Regions from separate parts of the Homo sapiens genome. Here region 1 is linked to region 2. The links are contacts of gene promoters, found by promoter capture Hi-C in blood cells and fetal thymus (Javierre and others, 2016). All regions are on one chromosome and are shown on one strand. The core of a region is centred on a gene start or on the middle of the fragment in contact, and the rest is flanking DNA. Distances in the headings are between cores, read along the strand shown. Region 1 overlaps ARHGAP31 (Rho GTPase activating protein 31). Region 2 holds the start of ARHGAP31 (Rho GTPase activating protein 31).

The links. Contacts are between HindIII fragments. The CHiCAGO score rates a contact against its expected background, and 5 or more counts as called.
Region 1: a contact is called between a fragment that was not itself captured here and the fragment with the promoter of ARHGAP31 in region 2, in 4 of 17 cell types (activated CD4 T cells, monocytes, endothelial precursors and 1 more). The highest score is 6.6, in activated CD4 T cells.

What each region holds. Positions count from the first base shown.
Region 1 is chr3:119,357,381-119,361,304 of GRCh38, reverse strand. The region is part of intron 1 of ARHGAP31 (Rho GTPase activating protein 31); the gene reads right to left. Among named protein-coding and RNA genes, the nearest start is that of ARHGAP31-AS1, 37 kb to the right of the region's middle. RefSeq lists an enhancer at 1-453. The HindIII fragment of the contact is 3,035 bases long and covers 305-3,339 here.
Region 2 is chr3:119,293,071-119,297,317 of GRCh38, reverse strand. ARHGAP31 (Rho GTPase activating protein 31) reads right to left here and starts at 2,935. Exons shown (of 12, transcript NM_020754.4): 1 at 2,314-2,935. The coding sequence starts at 2,413. RefSeq lists a silencer at 2,503-2,622 and an enhancer at 3,463-3,512. The HindIII fragment of the contact is 3,332 bases long and covers 1,349-4,247 here.

The DNA of each region.
Region 1 (3,924 bases), core at 573-3,072, 65 kb before region 2:
GATTTCACTGATATGCATATTGCAATTCAGTAGGGAGGCAGGTGGTAGGAGTGTTGAGAATTTGCCTTTCTAACAAATTCCAGGTCATGCAGGTACTGCTAATCTGCAGCTCACACTCAGAATAGCAAGGGTCTGAAAATAGCCCTGGAGGGTAGTGTTGCAGTGGCTATTGTTAAGTCTCAAAGTCTCAGAATTCTTTAAACTATTGTCCCAGGGGTCCTATCAGATTGGGGACACCCTAGGATTCTGGACAGGGTAGAAGCTTGATCAAAATAGCTGAGTAGTTATAGACAGAAAGAAAGCTTCTATTGTCGATTTAGGCATGGGAAGGACTGACGCTGGAGGTCAGAGTCACAGAGCTCATTCTGTGGGATTCATCCTGGGCCCATAGAACTCTGAGTCTCCTCCTACAGAGGTACACATAGTTGCTGCTGATGACATAATATCATAGCTTCTTAGAATCATTTCACTTATGGCCCTCTAACTCCCTTGTTTTGTTTTGTTTTTCCTAGATCAGTTATCTTAAATGTTAAATTTTAATCTGAGCACAAAATACAACTTGAAGAGGTTTCTGAGGGAAAAGAAAATCTTGCCTTTGATTTATGCTTTACAGTTCATAAAATATTATACAGTCCTTTGTTTTATTTATTTCCTACTAACAGATATTTTACACTTATAAATAACATGGCATGTTTTCCTCATGTCCTAACCTCTTGAAGGGTTTAATGCAGAAAAGGCCAGAAGTCAAACATTTCTCGAAGTCACCCCCAGAAGTCATAACACTGCTAAGCTGCCTCAGTTCCCTGTGTGCCTGGGACCTGATCAGACCTGGAGACAGAGATTGAAAGAAGCACAGTTGTATTTGGTCATTTACGTGGTTGTGGTGGCCACATTCTTTCATAGTGCAAATGGCATTTGTGTTTTAGGGAAACAGGCACTCCCCCATCTCCATTCTGGATTTTGTTAAGGTCTTGACTTGGTCAGATTTCGTCCCCTCTCTGGATCCTGCATTCCTGACCTTCAAAGTAAAGTCTAGTGGTGTGTACACACAATATAATATACTCGGCAACAACAAGGAGTGATAAAGCCTGTGAGTGCAGCTCAAAGACACTCGGCTGGGTGATAGAAGCCAGACTATGAAAGACTACATAGGGTAGGATTCCATTTATGTAAAACTGTAGAAAATGCAAACTAACTTGTAGGAAGAGAAAGCAGGGAAGAGGCAGGAGGGAGGAATGACAAAGGAGCCGGAGGAAACATTTGGGCGTGATGGATATGTTCATCATCTTGTTTGAGGTAATAAAAAGGACCAAGAGCTGCCGGTGGGCAAAGAATAATGATACTTGAGGGAAGAGGGTAAGATAATGAGGGAGACAAGACACTGCACAGGAAGAAATCCTGTAAGCATCTGTTGCGATGCACACGGGAGAGAGGGGGGATTTTTAAACAATTTTGCTGTGCTGTGAATGGGCCCCCTCTTCAGCATTTTCCCAAGAGACGCAGTAAAGATTTACATTACTTCCTCATTTCTCTGGGTTGTGAGTACAGAACTTCCTAGGCGTTTCCCCCCCAGAATCCAAGAGCTCTCTCTGCCAGCCTCTGTTCTTTGTTCCTGTCCCATCCTTTCCCCATCCCTGTTCCACTCCTCTGTCCCATGCTCCTCCCTGGCCTCTGCGAGGCTCTCCCTGCCTGGAGGTCACTGCCCACCCCAATTTTCCCTCTGAGTCTCCTTCCTCCTCCCTGTTTTAACTTCTTTCTACTCTTTTCTTCCTGGCTTCATGTGGAATTAAATAAATGTTGAAAAGTTGTGGTATTTATTTAACAAAGTATAATGTGTTCTGTTCTTTAAAAAAAAAAACAAATGAACCACTTTCTAATTTTCTAAGAAAAAAAATTTAAAAATATGTTGAGGCTTTGGCTTGTCCTCCTTGGAGAAAAGTTTCCTTTTAAGCATTTTATTTTTTCTTTTTAAACCTGAGATATAGGCCAGTCACAGTGGCTCAGGCTGCCTATAATCCCAGCACTTTGGGAGGCCAAGGCAGGTGGATCACCTGAGGTCAGGAGTTCAAGACCAGCCTACCCAATACAGTGAAACCTCGTCTCTACTAAAACTACAAAAACTAGCCGGGCATGGTGGTGCACGCCTATAATCCCAGCTACTCAGGAGGCTGAGGCAGGAGAATCGCTTGAACCTGGGAATCAGAGGTTGCAGTGAGCTGAGATCAAACCATTGCACTCTAGCCTGGGTGACAGAGTGAGTGAGACTCTGTCTCAAAAAAAAAAAAAAGTTAAAAACAAAAAAACTGAAATATAATTAAAATACCATATAATTCACCCTTTAAAGTGTACGACTAAGTGATTTTTAGTGTATTCACAAGTTAAGCAATCATCACATTAATTCCAGAACATTTTCATCTCTCAAGAAAGGAACCCATATCCATTAGTAGTTACTGCCCATTTCCCCTTCTCCCAGCTCCAACAGCCACTAATCAACGTTCTATTTTCTATGGGTTTGCCCGTTTTGGACATTTCCTATAAATGAGATCTTAAAATATGTGGCCTTTGTGACGGACTTCTTTTATTTAGCATAGTGTTTTCAAGGTCCGTCCATGTTGTAGCATGTGTCAGTATTTCATTCATTTTTATGGCTGAATAAAATTCCAAATAAAGCCTTCATTTTGTTTATTCATTCACCAGTTGATAGAAATTTGAGTTATTTCCACTTTTTGCTATTAGGAATATTGTTGCTATGAACCTTTACGTACAAGTTTTTGTATGGATATATGTTTTCAATTCTCTTGGATATATATCCAAGGGGTGAAATGGCTAGGTCGTATGGTGACTCTACATTTAACTTTTGAGGCACTGCCAAACTGTTTTCCACAATAGTTGTGCCATTTTACATTCCCACCAGCAATGGATGAGGGTTCCAATTTTCCATATCCTTGTCAAGACTTGTTGTCTATCTTTTTTATTGTCATCCTAGTAGTTGTGAAGTGGTATCATTGCAGTTTGGTTTGCATTTCCCTGATAACAATGTAGAACATCTTTTCTTGTGCTTACTGGCCGTTTGTATATCTCTTTTGAAGAAATGTCTATTTGGATAATTTGTCCATTTTTAGTTGGGTGGTCTTTGCTGGGTTATGATTTCTTTATATATTCTGAATACTAGACTCTTATTAGACCTATGATTGGCAAATATTTTCTCCTATGCTGTGGGTGGTCTTTTCACTTTCTTGATGGTGTTCTTTGAAGCACAGAAGTTTTACATTTCAGTGAAGTCCAATTTATCTATGTTTTTCTTTTGTTGCTTGTGCTTTTTGTATCAGGAGAAAAGCTTCTTATTTCTGATTTATATTGTCCACATCCTTCATCATTGGTTATTGGAATAATGGTTCATCATTATGCACATGCATAAAGAGTGATGTTATAAGTAATGCAACTGTTTCTTATTGTTATAGATGAGAACATATAAATCCAAAGCAGCACTATCCTTTGAGAAACTAGACCATTATCTGGCTCAGAACATTTTTGAAACCACCCTTTGGGAACGGTTAGTTAGAAACTATATACATTTAACTCAAGTATAACCTCCTTCCAGGAGAAAAAGAGGAAAAAAAGAGTGAGAAGTGTTTATACTGTACTTCTCATTTTCCCTACAGGATTCAAAGCGATTGTTTTATTATTATTTCACTTTCGAATTTGTTTTGGGTAGAATGGGCTTTAGTTCTGTTTTCTCTTTAGTTCCTACAGACAGGGAATATATTTTATCTTTTAAAAACTGAGATTTGATTTAGAGGGAGGCCTAGGAGGTTTTCCACAATCTGGCCACACTCCCCCCTGCCAGTCTCATCACCGATTGCTGAGCTTTCCCTCCCTCTCAGCCCCACACAGGAATGCGGTGTTCCAGCCACGCTGGACAGC
Region 2 (4,247 bases), core at 1,686-4,185:
CAGGCCTTGTCTATGAATCAATACATGTTTGGGAGAGTCCACAAAGAAGCAACATTACTTTAGAGAAAACCATTAGCACTGACTTTGTTCATTGATGCTACACTATCACAAATACACAGAAAAAAACCATCCAACTAGTTTTAGCTGAGGGAAAAAATAAATTCTAATTACTCTTATTTCCATAAGCAGTATATTATGCATGTCTAATTTCCGTGTAGCACAATAACAGTGTGTGGATCATTAAGTGGGTCAGTTGCGTTTCCTTTCAAAGCTGAACTCTCATCAGGTATGTTCAGTCTTCAAAGTTTGCTGATCCTGTAGCAGGGCTGTCTGCTTTCAATTTAGGGGGAAAATATCATTAGAAGAGAATGTTGGCTTAGACACAGAAGCCAGGGAGGGCAGAGGAACCTAACAGGCCAGGGAGGGCCCTCCGATCCTTCATGATTAGCTGTACAACCTCAGGCAGGCCAATTTACCCCTCTGGGCTTCTTTTCCCCCTCCCCAGGGTGGGGAACCCGGGGTACTGGTTTGCCATTCTTTTAAGCAGTAGTCTCTGTTTTTTTTTGTCTAAATGAAACATATGCAGAAGCCCAAAATATAAAGCAGGTGAAAGAACAGCTGCCTAAAGCTGCCTTTGACATATCTTCATAGAACCCTGGGGTTCTGGCTCATCCTATAATCTATTAGTTTGTAAGAACGAACAGGGCTGGCAAGCACCCCTATGCAACTCTCACAGATTTGAGGGAGGGGCCAGAATAACACCCGCATGGTGAAAGGTGGCATCCCAGGAGCATTCCTAGTGTACCTGGAGGTTAACTTGAAGGCCCCTGCAAAAATAGGTGAAGAGGAACCTTTCATTGTAAACTTCTGACGATAGTGGTTAAGAGGCATACTTGGAGTTTTCTCACACTCAAAAAAACTCAAACCAAGTGATTTTTATCTCAAATCTACCTCTCCAGATGGTTGGTGAGGATTCAATGAAGTGTTAAGTTATGCATCAATTTCAAAAGAGTCAGTTTTGAAACCTGTGGTTCTCCAAGCTCTAAAATCCTAAGCTATTTGTCCTAATGACACAGCAGACTGAACTCTAGAATACCACAGGAATATCACACCACTGCAAATTACTAGGTGGTGCTGAGTCTCCCAAAACACAGAAGTGAAACAAAAGCATTGCACTGTTTTTGAAATGCATATTCGATATGGACTAATCAAATAGGTTTTGAGATTATTTTCCTGGAGGCAGAATTATTCCGCACGGTTACACAGCCCTTAGTTTTCCCCTTTGTTGTATCTATCTATGTATAAACACATGGCCTATATAGTAGGCTATTTTCCTCTCGCTGAAGCTTCTGAAGACAAGGCCTTTTTGTCAAGGGTAAGTGCAAAACCAGTCAACCTTACAAAAGGAGTCATTTAATGCTCAATTTTCCAACTTTCCTATGATTAAACACTTCTAAGCTCAAACGCTGTTATTGTAATCTAGATGGTGTTTTCTTTCCCCCTTCCCCAACAAATGTTTAAATTGTCTCCGCTGGATTCCCCCATCCCCAACTCCCCCCTACCCCCATCTGACCTTGAAAACAGAGAAGTTTTCCTTTTCTCTACTTACCCTAAACTATTTAAAAATGGAGGCCCTCTGACCTTTTTACAACACTCTTCTTGTCTGACACACCAAATGTTAATCTGAAAGCCAAGAGGAGGGAAAAGGTCTTGCAGGGCGGGGAGGGGGTTGTGGAAAGGGGGTGGAGGTACTATATATTTGGCATCAGCTCAGAAATTCAGAAATGTTTGTGCAACCACTCCCCCAGCCAGGATCCTCCCCCACCCCCCACCCGCAACTGCCTTCTAACACATTAATAAAAAAAGATGTGAGCAGACGAAATTGGAGAGCCCAGGAGGGACAGCTAAGGCGGTCATGATTTTGTACCCAGGCAAGACCACTGATCACCATCCCACATGTCCACCCCTCCTCCCTCCCTTCCAACGTGCCAAGTTTAGGATTGGGACCTCTGCAGCTTCCACCCCCATCCCCTGAGGTGGCCCGGTAAACTTGCGGCAGTACCACCCATTAACAGCTTGTGTGAGGCAAACGGAAGGACTGACACAGCAGCCTCTGCGCGTCGGGACAGCAGCGCTGTGCACCTTAAGAATCGTTTATGTTCTTTAAAAAAAAAAAAGAAAAAAAAGTGCAATGAGCGCACAGGCCTGGAATACATTAACTTGTGAACCGACTCTATCACAACTCGAGAGAGTCCGTCTCTCCCTCAAACAAAAAGAAGGTGGGGGCGGGGGAGAAAGGCCAAGGCACATTACCATCCTGTCCCGAGCTTTCCAGATACTCCGTCAGGTCACAGCCAAACGCGCTGGCGGCTCCCTTTCGTTTCAGCTTCTGCTTAGCACCCTTGTTCTTCATGAGTTAGTCCCAAAGAGGCTGCCCCTCCGTCTCTGCCGCCCCTCTGCTTGGCACCGCTGTAAGATGGGCTCCCGGGCTAGATCACCGGCTGCCCCGCGGCTCTGGGGGGCCGCATCGGAAGATGGAAGAACTTGGGCTGGGGGCCCTGCGCATGGACCCCGCGGGCCGCGGGCCGGCAGAGCCTGAGATCCACCCCGCGCCGCTCCGGGGCCGCCGTGCCGAGGCCGTGCAGACTGGCAGCCGCGGGCCGGCTCGCCTGGGAGTGTCACTTCCTCACTTGGAGTCCTAGGGACTTTCACAGGCTCCTGCGGTGTCTTCGGGTGTTTCTCCTCAGCTTAAGAGGGAGGGCAAGCTCTCCCCACCCCTTACTAAGTGCCCCGGAGACGACGCGGACGCGGGGCGAGGAGACTGCCCAGGGGGCTGCGGTGGGTCCTGCGCCCTGGGCCCGCTGTCTCGCCTTCAGACGACTTTGGTAGAGCGAAAAACAAGCATCCTGTCGCTGCTGCCCGCCCTCACGCCTTCCTTTTTTTCCTGTCTTACAAATCCTAGGATCATCCAGCTCAGGAAATGCTGGAAGGAAGTTAGCTAGGGAGGGGGGCGGTGGGTGGAAATTTTTGGCAGCTCGGTGCTTGTGAGTGTGTGGAGCTAGAGGAAGTAGGTGGGTGGGTTGAGGAGCACGGGGTTGGGGTAGAGAACGCGTTCTCCCGAGAGCAGTTCTGCGACTCCAGAGATAACTGGGCAGCCCCGGAGGAAATCGCGCTCTTCTCGCAGGACCCGCAGCCGCAGCCGCCGCTTCCTGCCCCGCCGAGCCGGCTCTTTGAAGTGGCGGGAGGAGGTGCGCTGGCATTCTGCGGGGACCGTGCTGGTTGGGACTTTCAGAACCCTCTGCCCTGGTTTTATCCTCATTGTCATCGTATCTTTGACACTTTCTATTTCGGTGCCCGCCTGTCTGCTACGCAAATACTTAAAGAGTAATGACAGAGACAAACAGGGGACTCCAGCGGAGAAACCTGACAGGCAGTGGCTTCACGCCGGCCACTCCCATCCCAACCTCCTCTGCAGCGTTCGTGCACCCCCACCTCAGCTCACTCCCCTCCCACTCTGGGGTAAAGATACCCCTGGGCAAAGAGAGGCTGCAGCTTTGTAACCACTGCCCAGGAAATCAGATTTCTGGTTACATATTCAAGACACACACACACACTACTGCAAAGTTTTCTAAATGGAAGTGATTTGGGGGGGACAAACCAGGATTTAAGATGCCTCTGACACATGAAATGTGAAGAAAGCAGTCTCCCAGGTTCTTTCATAATTTGTTTCAAGTTGTTTCAAGAGGGCATGTTTTTTTCTTCTCCAGTTAGATTTTAAATTCTTTAACTTCTGTGTACTCAGCACACAGAAAGCACTCAAATTCTTGTGATTTAACCATTTGAGGATTAGATGAAACTTCCTGTATAAATTCAAATCCATATACAGGCTTGAAGGATAGGGGCATATGTCATACAGCTCAGATTGCTGGCAAAGCTGCATCCGTAGCATTTTAGGTACTGAATCCCTTTACAGTCACTGTCTCTCTATGTAACCTTAACAGTCTATGAACTTTGACCCTTGACATTTTCTCTATGTCAGAGGTCACAACTTGATAGCCACCCTGCCAGATCTGGCCCATAGATGTACTTGGCTGGCAGACACCATGCTTTAACACGTTTTAAAATTAGTAGCTAGCATTAAAAAGTTAAGAGATTTCACATAAAATCTGAATTTCTGGCTTCTCTTGAAAAAATGGAAGATCTAGTTACACCACAAGTGCATTCCCATATGGCAAGGACGGCTGATG